2 separate regions of the Homo sapiens genome follow, and region 2 is linked to region 1. Evidence: promoter capture Hi-C in 16 types of primary human blood cells and fetal thymus (Javierre and others, 2016). All regions are on one chromosome and are shown on one strand. The core of a region is centred on a gene start or on the middle of the fragment in contact, and the rest is flanking DNA. Distances in the headings are between cores, read along the strand shown.

Region 1 (3,689 bases), core at 1,060-3,559:
TGTAGGTTTTTGCCATATACCTGTGTTGCTGTTGAGCTGCCCTTTGTTTTTTTTTTTTTTTTTTTTTTTTTTTGAGACGCAGTCTCACTGTATTACCCAGCCTGGAGTGCAATGGCGTGATTTTGGCTCGCTGCAACCTCTGCCTCGCGGGTTCAAGTGATTCTCCTGCTTCAGCCTCCCAAGTAGCTGAGATTACAGGCATGTGCCACCACGCCCCGCTAATTTTTGTATTTTTAGTAGAGATGAGGTTTCACCATGTTGGTCGGGCTGGTCTCCCACTCCTGACCTCAGGTGATGCACCCGCCTCGGCCTCCCAAAGTGCTGGGATTACAGGCGTGAGCCACAGCGCCCGACCTGTGTGTCATTCTTTAACTCTCGTCTTCCCTTCAAAACCTAACAATATCTTAAGATCAAAAGCATTCTTCATTTAGGTTTCGCTTTAAAGATAATATAGATCTTTGCCAAAGTCAGTAAACAAAGATGAACAATCCTTGTGTCAGGCCTCTGAGCCCAAGCCAAGCCATCGCATCCCCTGTGACTTGTACGTATACGCCCAGATGGCCTGAAGTAACTGAAGAATCACAAAAGAAGTGAAAAGGCCCTGCCCCACCTTAACTGATGACATTCCACCATCGTGATTTGTTCCTGCCCAACCTTAACTAAGTGATTAACCCTGTGAATTTCCTTCTCCTGGCTCAGAAGCTCCCCCACTGAGCACCTTGTGACCCCCCACCCCTGCCCACCAGAGAACAACCCCCTTTGACTGTAATTTTCCATTACCTTCCCAAATCCTATAAAACGGCCCCACCCCTATCTCCCTTCGCTGACTGTCTTTTTGGACTCAGCCCGCCTGCACCCAGGTGAAATAAACAGCCATGTTGCTCACACAAATCCTGTTTGGTGGTCTCTTCACACGGACGCGCATGAAACCTTGGTCGTGGGCCCTCGTGGTAGAGCCCATGTCCCCCAAGATTTCTTTGGCTGTGTTACCTTAGATTTGAACAAGCACTGTACCTAAGGCGGGCGCCTTCCTCCTCCCGCTTTCAGGAATGCCCTGCTCTGCCATTCTTTTGCTTTCTCACTTCTCTAATACACTTGCTTTCACTTTAGTCCGTGGACTCGCCCCGAATTCTTTCCTACGCGACATCCAAGAAGCCTCTCGCTGGGTCTGAGTGGAGACCTCTTTCTGGTAATAAACGGACTAGGGAGATTCGACTTTGAAGGTGAAAACAAAAACCACCATCCAGTTTATAAGAAGGCGCTCGAGGCCGGGAACGGTGGCTCAGGCCTGTAATCCCAGCACTTTGGGAGGCTGAGGTGGTGGGGCGGGGGGAGGGAATCACCTGAGGTCACGAGTTCGAGACCAGCCTGACCAATATGGTGAAAACCCGTCTCTACTAAAAATATAAACATTAGCCGGGCGTGGTGGCGCACGACTGTAATCCCAACTACTCGGGAGGCTGAGGCAGGAGAATCGCTTGAATCCGGGAGGCAGAGGTTGCAGTAGGCCAAGATCGTGCCACTTCACTCCAGCCTGGGCGAACAAGTTAAACTCTCCATCTCAAAAAAAAAAAAAAAAAAAGGGCGGCACTGGAAACAGCTGGGAGTGACAGGGCCAGGGATGAGGGATCGCAAGCTGCTGGTGAGAAAGGAGCTCAGAGGCTGCCTGGCCTACGGGCCAGGAGACCTCAGCGCAAAAAGCGCAGGACTCGTTCCCCTGCTCTACAGCTGAGTGCCCAGGACGGATCTCACTGGCTGAAAAAAACAGAAGAGAAGGCACCCAATGCAAAATCAAATGTCAGCGAACGAGGGGTCCTTTAACAGGCGGCCCACACGGCCCCTCCTGGCGCCGAGACCCAGCCCCTCCGGGCCACCCCGGCCAGGTACGACCAGCAGGGTCACCTGCGCGCGTCCCCCGAGACGGGGCCTCCTGATGTGAAGCGACCCCAGTGGCACCTCACACGATTCCCGAGGGTTGCGGGCGGCCTCTCCTCAGCCCTGCAGCTCCCACACGCGGACACCGCGGGCCTCGGCCATGTCCACTGACCGACCTTCCTCGCCGGAACTCCTCGCGCATCGCCGGCCCCTCAGCGGCGACTAGCGCGCGAACATCCTGGAAGACGCGTTGCCGGCCCCACGTGAGCCGACGCCCCAAAGCGCGGCTGCTGGCGCCGGCTACGAGATCAAGGTCGGCGCGTGCGCGCTTGCGCGAGACCGGCATTCTCAGCCCCGCGCCGGTTTCCAGGGAGCTGGGCGCATGCGCCGCGTAAGGGGCCCGGCCGGCGGAAGGAGGTGCTACTGCCGGAAGCGCCGGCGCGCTTGCGCAGTAGCTGAACGCGGGCGTTTCTTTCCTCCCTTTTTTTCGAATTGGTTTTGGGGGTAGATTCGAGTTACAAAATGGCCGCCCGGAGCGTGTTCGGCGCGGTTCCCCCAGCTGTCTCTGGCTGAACCGGCGCTCTCGCCTCCCTGCCGAACACAGCGTGAGGAGCCCCCCCAGGGATATGGTGTTTGAGTCTCTGGGCTTGCCGAGCACTAAGTCCTCTGAGTTCCGCAGCGCAGCACCGGAAGCGGCCGAGCGCGCTCAGCCCGGCGACCCCTGCGGGCTCCAGACCCCTGCGCCGCTGCGCCCCGGGTTTCGCCGCAACCAAGACCCAGCGAGTGCAGCGGCGGCCGCCGAGGAGGTGAGGAGCGGCGGCGGGCGCGGGAGGAGAAGAGGCTGAGGGCGGGAGCCTGGTGCTGAGAGCCCAGGGCCGGGAGGGCGGGAGCGGGCTCGGGCCTGGGAGGGGAGTGCGAGTGCAGGGCTGGGGACTGGACCCTGGGGAGGGAGGTGCGGGTTCAGCGCCGGGGGACGGGCCCCTGGGGAGGGGTGCGGGGCCGGGGGACCAGACCCTGGGGAGGGGCTTAAGGGGCTGGAGGACGGGACCCTGGGAAGTGGGGTACAGGGCTAGAGGTCGGGACTCTAGGGAGGGAGCCTGGGTCGGGCGCACGGGCCGGGCGGGGCGCGCGGTGGGGGAGCGACGGGTGGAGGGTGGGGTGGGATGACAGCGGCGACGCAGCCCCGGCTGTTTTTGAAGCGGGGCCCGGGCCCCACCGGGCTGCGGCGTCCGACTCGAGTGAGACTCTCCCCTGCGGCCCCGCCGGAGGTAGGGGGCTGGCAGGGCTGTCCTGGCGTGGTCTTCTCCGTTTCCTTCCTAGCGATTCCTCTCGAGCTTCCTCTCCCCCTGGCCGCCCCTCGTCTCTCTTCTCTTGGGCGCATTACCTCTCTGGCCTGTCTTACTGCGTTCCCGGGTTATTCATCACCCATTTGCTCGGTTCCATTAAGAACCAGCTTGGAGATTAGGTATTTCTGTCTCCTTACTTGGCCCCCTTGTTGTTTTCCTCCAACAAGGCACTTCACTATTAAGTGTAGCCAAATCTGTGTTTTCGTTTTAAGGTGATGTTGACAAGTTGAGCTTTCCAAGGGCAGAGCTACACCAGATGCCAGAGACCACATAACTATATCAGGCACAAATAATGTTTTTTTCCAGTTTACCTAGACTTTCAGTCTCCCACCACGTTGCTTCATACCTAGAAATCATGTCTAATTTGGTTTTTTACCCACAAACGCAAACGTTTTTTAAATTCCCTTTTATTGATTGTTTGATTGAGACTGGGTCTTGCTTTGTCACCAGGCCTCAGTGTAGTGGTAG
Region 2 (3,794 bases), core at 886-3,385, 170 kb after region 1:
TTTCTTGGCTTGATGTTTGGTAGGTCCTTGAATGGGCAAGAGGGCACATGAAGTACGGCGTCCTCCACATTCACGGCCTCTACACGGACCCCTGCGGGGTGGTGCTGGACCCATCGGGGTATAAAGACGTCACTCAAGACGCAGAAGTCATGGTACGGCCCGTCCTAATTAGCATCGGTGCGTCCTCTCAGGGATTACTGGTGGCCACTGGCCATTGGCTGCAGTTGAGTGGCTTCCCAGGCTCCAGGCGTCCGTGCCCTTCAGGTCGGCCCTGCACACAGTTGCTGAGGGAGGGGCCACGTCTCTTGTCCTCGTCTGTGTCTCTGGGGTCCCGCATGGTGCCTCCATGTTGAGTAGATGCTTGGCGAACATTTGTTGGAGGAAGGAATTCATGATTCCTTTCAAAGCAGAGATCTGCCTGTACCCTCTCTAGGAGCCCTGGCCATTTGGTGGTTCTCACCTGCCCAGGTATATAGTGAAACTCCTCAGCATGACATATAGGCCCCGTGCAGTCTAGAATGTTGTCCTTGTTCTTCCAGGCTTCTTCTGGTCTGAAATTCTCTGCTCTCCTTCCTGTAGTTGTAAAGCTTCATTTTTGGCCTGGTATAGTGGCTCATGCCTGTAATCTCAGTGCTTTGGCAGGCCAAGGCAGGAGGATTGCTTGAGTCCAGGAGGGAGAGGCTATGGTGAACTGGGATCGCACCACTGCACTCCAGCCTGGGCAACAGAGCGATACCTCATTTCTAAAAAAATAAATAAATAAAAGTAAATAACACTTCATTCTCTGTGAGGTTTTATTTTTCTTCTTCTTAAATAGACAGGGTCTTGCTCTGTGGCCCAGGCTGAAGTGCAGTGGCATGATCAAAGCTCACTGCTTCCTTGAACTCCTGGGCCCAAGGATCCTCCTGCCTTAGTCTCCCGAGTAGCTGGGACTGCAGGTGTGTGCCCCTACTCCCGGCTGTGAGGTCTTCCTGATGCCCTAGAATGCAGTGTGGAAAAGCTGTGCTTCTGGTAAGCACTGAGAAACTCGGTGTCTGTGGATTTACCCTCAAGCACACAGCTAGGCGCCCTGTTCCTCAGTGCTCATCCCTGGGCCGGTGTCATTCCGTGACAGGTGTCAGCAGATGAGTGACTGGGCAGATGCTTTTCAGTTGCATCATTAATACTGCTTGGTGATAAGAAATACCTGGGCTGAGACTGAGCCTCTCTGAGATATTTGGTTAGCTGCATTGGCGATTCCCTCCTGCCTGCCTGAGTGACCCCATGCAATCTGCTTTCCCTGTGCCCACCCGACCCCGTCAGTCATGGTCACTGATCCCCTCCTCAGCTCTCTTGCCCTCATTCGCAAAACCACCCCTGCAAGAATTCCCACATATGGCCCACTGAGATCAACATTAATTTCAGGGTGTTTTATGTGCATAATTCTGAACTGAAAACATTTACTGTCCTCATTTTGTGTTTTAATAATTTAAAATCGTACCCAATTTGAGAAGATTTGAGTTGGGTGACTGCACTGGTGAGTGTGTGGGGTGGGCGATGGGCTGGCCTTGCTGTTAGGGGTGTGGGCACTGCCACCCGCCTCGGCCAAAGACCAGCTACCCTGGCTTAGCTGGGGACAGGCAGGCTCAGCCCAGCTTTGGTCTTTGCTGCCACAGGCTGCTGCTGGGGGGTGGCCTGAGTGCCATGTCGGGAAGGATACTGTCCTTCTAACTGTGCTCCTCAGCGTGGCCCTGGGAACGCCTGTCAGGGAGCAGTGATGTAAAAGCACACACATGTGACTTGGTTAGTTGTAAGCTCTTGCTGTCTTTCAAATGAGCACTCAATTTCTTCATTGGCCTTTTCTAGGAAGTCCTCCAGAACTTATACCGCACCAAGTCCTTTCTGTTTGTGGGCTGTGGGGAGACCCTTCGTGATCAGATATTCCAGGCCCTCTTTCTTTACTCCGTGCCGAATAAGGTGGATTTGGAGCACTACATGCTTGTGCTGAAGGAGAATGAAGACCATTTCTTTAAGCATCAGGCAGATATGCTTCTGCACGGAATCAAAGTTGTATCCTACGGGGACTGTTTTGACCACTTTCCAGGATATGTGCAAGACCTTGCCACTCAGATCTGCAAACAGCAAAGCCCAGGTATGGGATCTGGCTTCACTTTCCTTTTTCTTTCTTTTTTCTTTTTTTTTTTTGAGACGGAGTTTTGCTCTTGTTGCCCAGGCTGGAGTGCAATGGCACCATCTTGGCTCACCACAACCTCCGCCTCCTAGGTTCAAGGGATTCTGCCTCAGCCTTCCGAGTAGCTGGCATTACAGGCATGCGCCACCATGCCTGGCTAATTTTGTATTTTTAGTAGAGATAGGGTTTCACCATGTTGGTCAGGCTGGTCTCGAACTCCTGACCTCAGGTGACCCACCTGCCTTGGCCTCCTGAAGTGCTGGGATTACAGGCGAGAGCCACCGCGCCCGGCCTGTCTTCACTTTTCAAGTACAAAACTCACAGGGCTCTTCCAGTTGTTTCTCTCTGTCTTTTTTTGATGGAACCCACATACCCCTAAAATTCACCAGTCTTCGTTATTATTTTTTAAAACTGCCTCTGTAATTTAAAATTAGAAGATTGGAGTAATTGGTGTCCTAGTGACAGTCTGTAACTAGAACTTTAAAGTAACTTCAGGCTGGGCACCGTGGCTCACGCCTGTCATCCCAGTTTTTTGGGAGGCCAAGGCAGGAGGATTGCTTGAGCCCAGGAGTTTAAGACCAACCTGGGCAACATAGGGAGACCTGGTCTCTACAAAAATGTTTTTAAAAATTAGCTGGGTTTGGAGCGGGCGCGATAGCTCACGCCTGTAATCCCAGCACTTTGGGAGGCTGAGGTGGGTGGATCACGAGGTCAGGAGATCGAGACCATCCTGGCTAACACGGTGAAACCCCGTCTCTACTAAAAATACAAAAAATTAGCTGGGCATGGTGGCGGGCACCTGTAGTCCCAGCTACTCAGGAGGCTGAGGCAGGAGAATGGCATGAACCCGGGAGGCAGAGCTTGCAGTGAGCCAAGATCGCACCACTGCACTCCAGCCTGGGTGACAGAGCAAGACTCTGTTTCCAAAAAAAAAAAAAAAAAAGAGCTGGGTTTGGTGGTGGACATCTGTGATACCAGCTACTCTGGAGGCTCAGGTGGGGGGATTGCTTGAGCCCAGGAGTTAGAGACTGCAGTAAGCTGTGATCAGGCCACTTATTCCAGTCTGGACGTCGGAGGAAGACCCTGTCTCTAAAAATAAAAAATACAGTAACTTTGAAGTTTACAGCTGTGCACACATGTATAGCTGGACACATTTATTCCTGTTTCAGGTTTCCTTAACCAAGAAGGAAAACTACCAGGCTAGCTTTATCAGTTGTGATACTTAACACTTGAAAGACGCAGATATCTCATATCTGTGTCCTATTACTGCAGTTGAAAAGTTACAACTTCACAAGCACAAAATGATTTCATGAACACTTTACTTCTTTTTTCACGTAATGTATTTTCCCTGTTCTGAATGCAACACCTCTTTTAAGTAGTGCTCCTTGGCACTTTTGAGAAATTGCTCATCTATCAGGAATGACCAGGGTAAGTGAGAAATTCTTAAACTTGGTCATCTTGATATAAGGGAATTAATAGCTGCGAGTTTGGCATCATAAAACATTGATGATGGCAAGCTTGGAAAGGCCTGTGCTGGCTCGTTTAATTGTAACAGGAAACCCAGGCACACTCACCACACACTAGAACGAGGTTAGCCACAGAGGCAGGTATATGTGACCAGCTG

The links. Contacts are between HindIII fragments. The CHiCAGO score rates a contact against its expected background, and 5 or more counts as called.
Region 2: a fragment that was not itself captured here is called in contact with the fragment with the promoter of NUP50 in region 1 in 1 of 17 cell types (neutrophils); the score reaches 5.8 in neutrophils.

Annotation. Positions count from the first base shown.
Region 1 is chr22:45,161,616-45,165,304 of GRCh38, forward strand. NUP50 (nucleoporin 50) reads left to right here and starts at 2,310. Exons shown (of 8, transcript NM_007172.4): 1 at 2,310-2,681. NUP50-DT (NUP50 divergent transcript) reads right to left here and starts at 2,166. Exons shown (of 3, transcript NR_038956.1): 1 at 1,962-2,166. RefSeq lists silencers at 1,822-1,871, 2,642-2,871, 2,902-3,081 and an enhancer at 2,239-2,761. The HindIII fragment of the contact is 17,324 bases long and covers 1-3,689 here.
Region 2 is chr22:45,330,580-45,334,373 of GRCh38, forward strand. FAM118A (family with sequence similarity 118 member A) reads left to right here. Exons shown (of 9, transcript NM_017911.4): 5 at 24-152; 6 at 1,846-2,131. Among named protein-coding and RNA genes, the nearest start is that of FAM118A, 23 kb to the left of the region's middle. The HindIII fragment of the contact is 3,100 bases long and covers 586-3,685 here.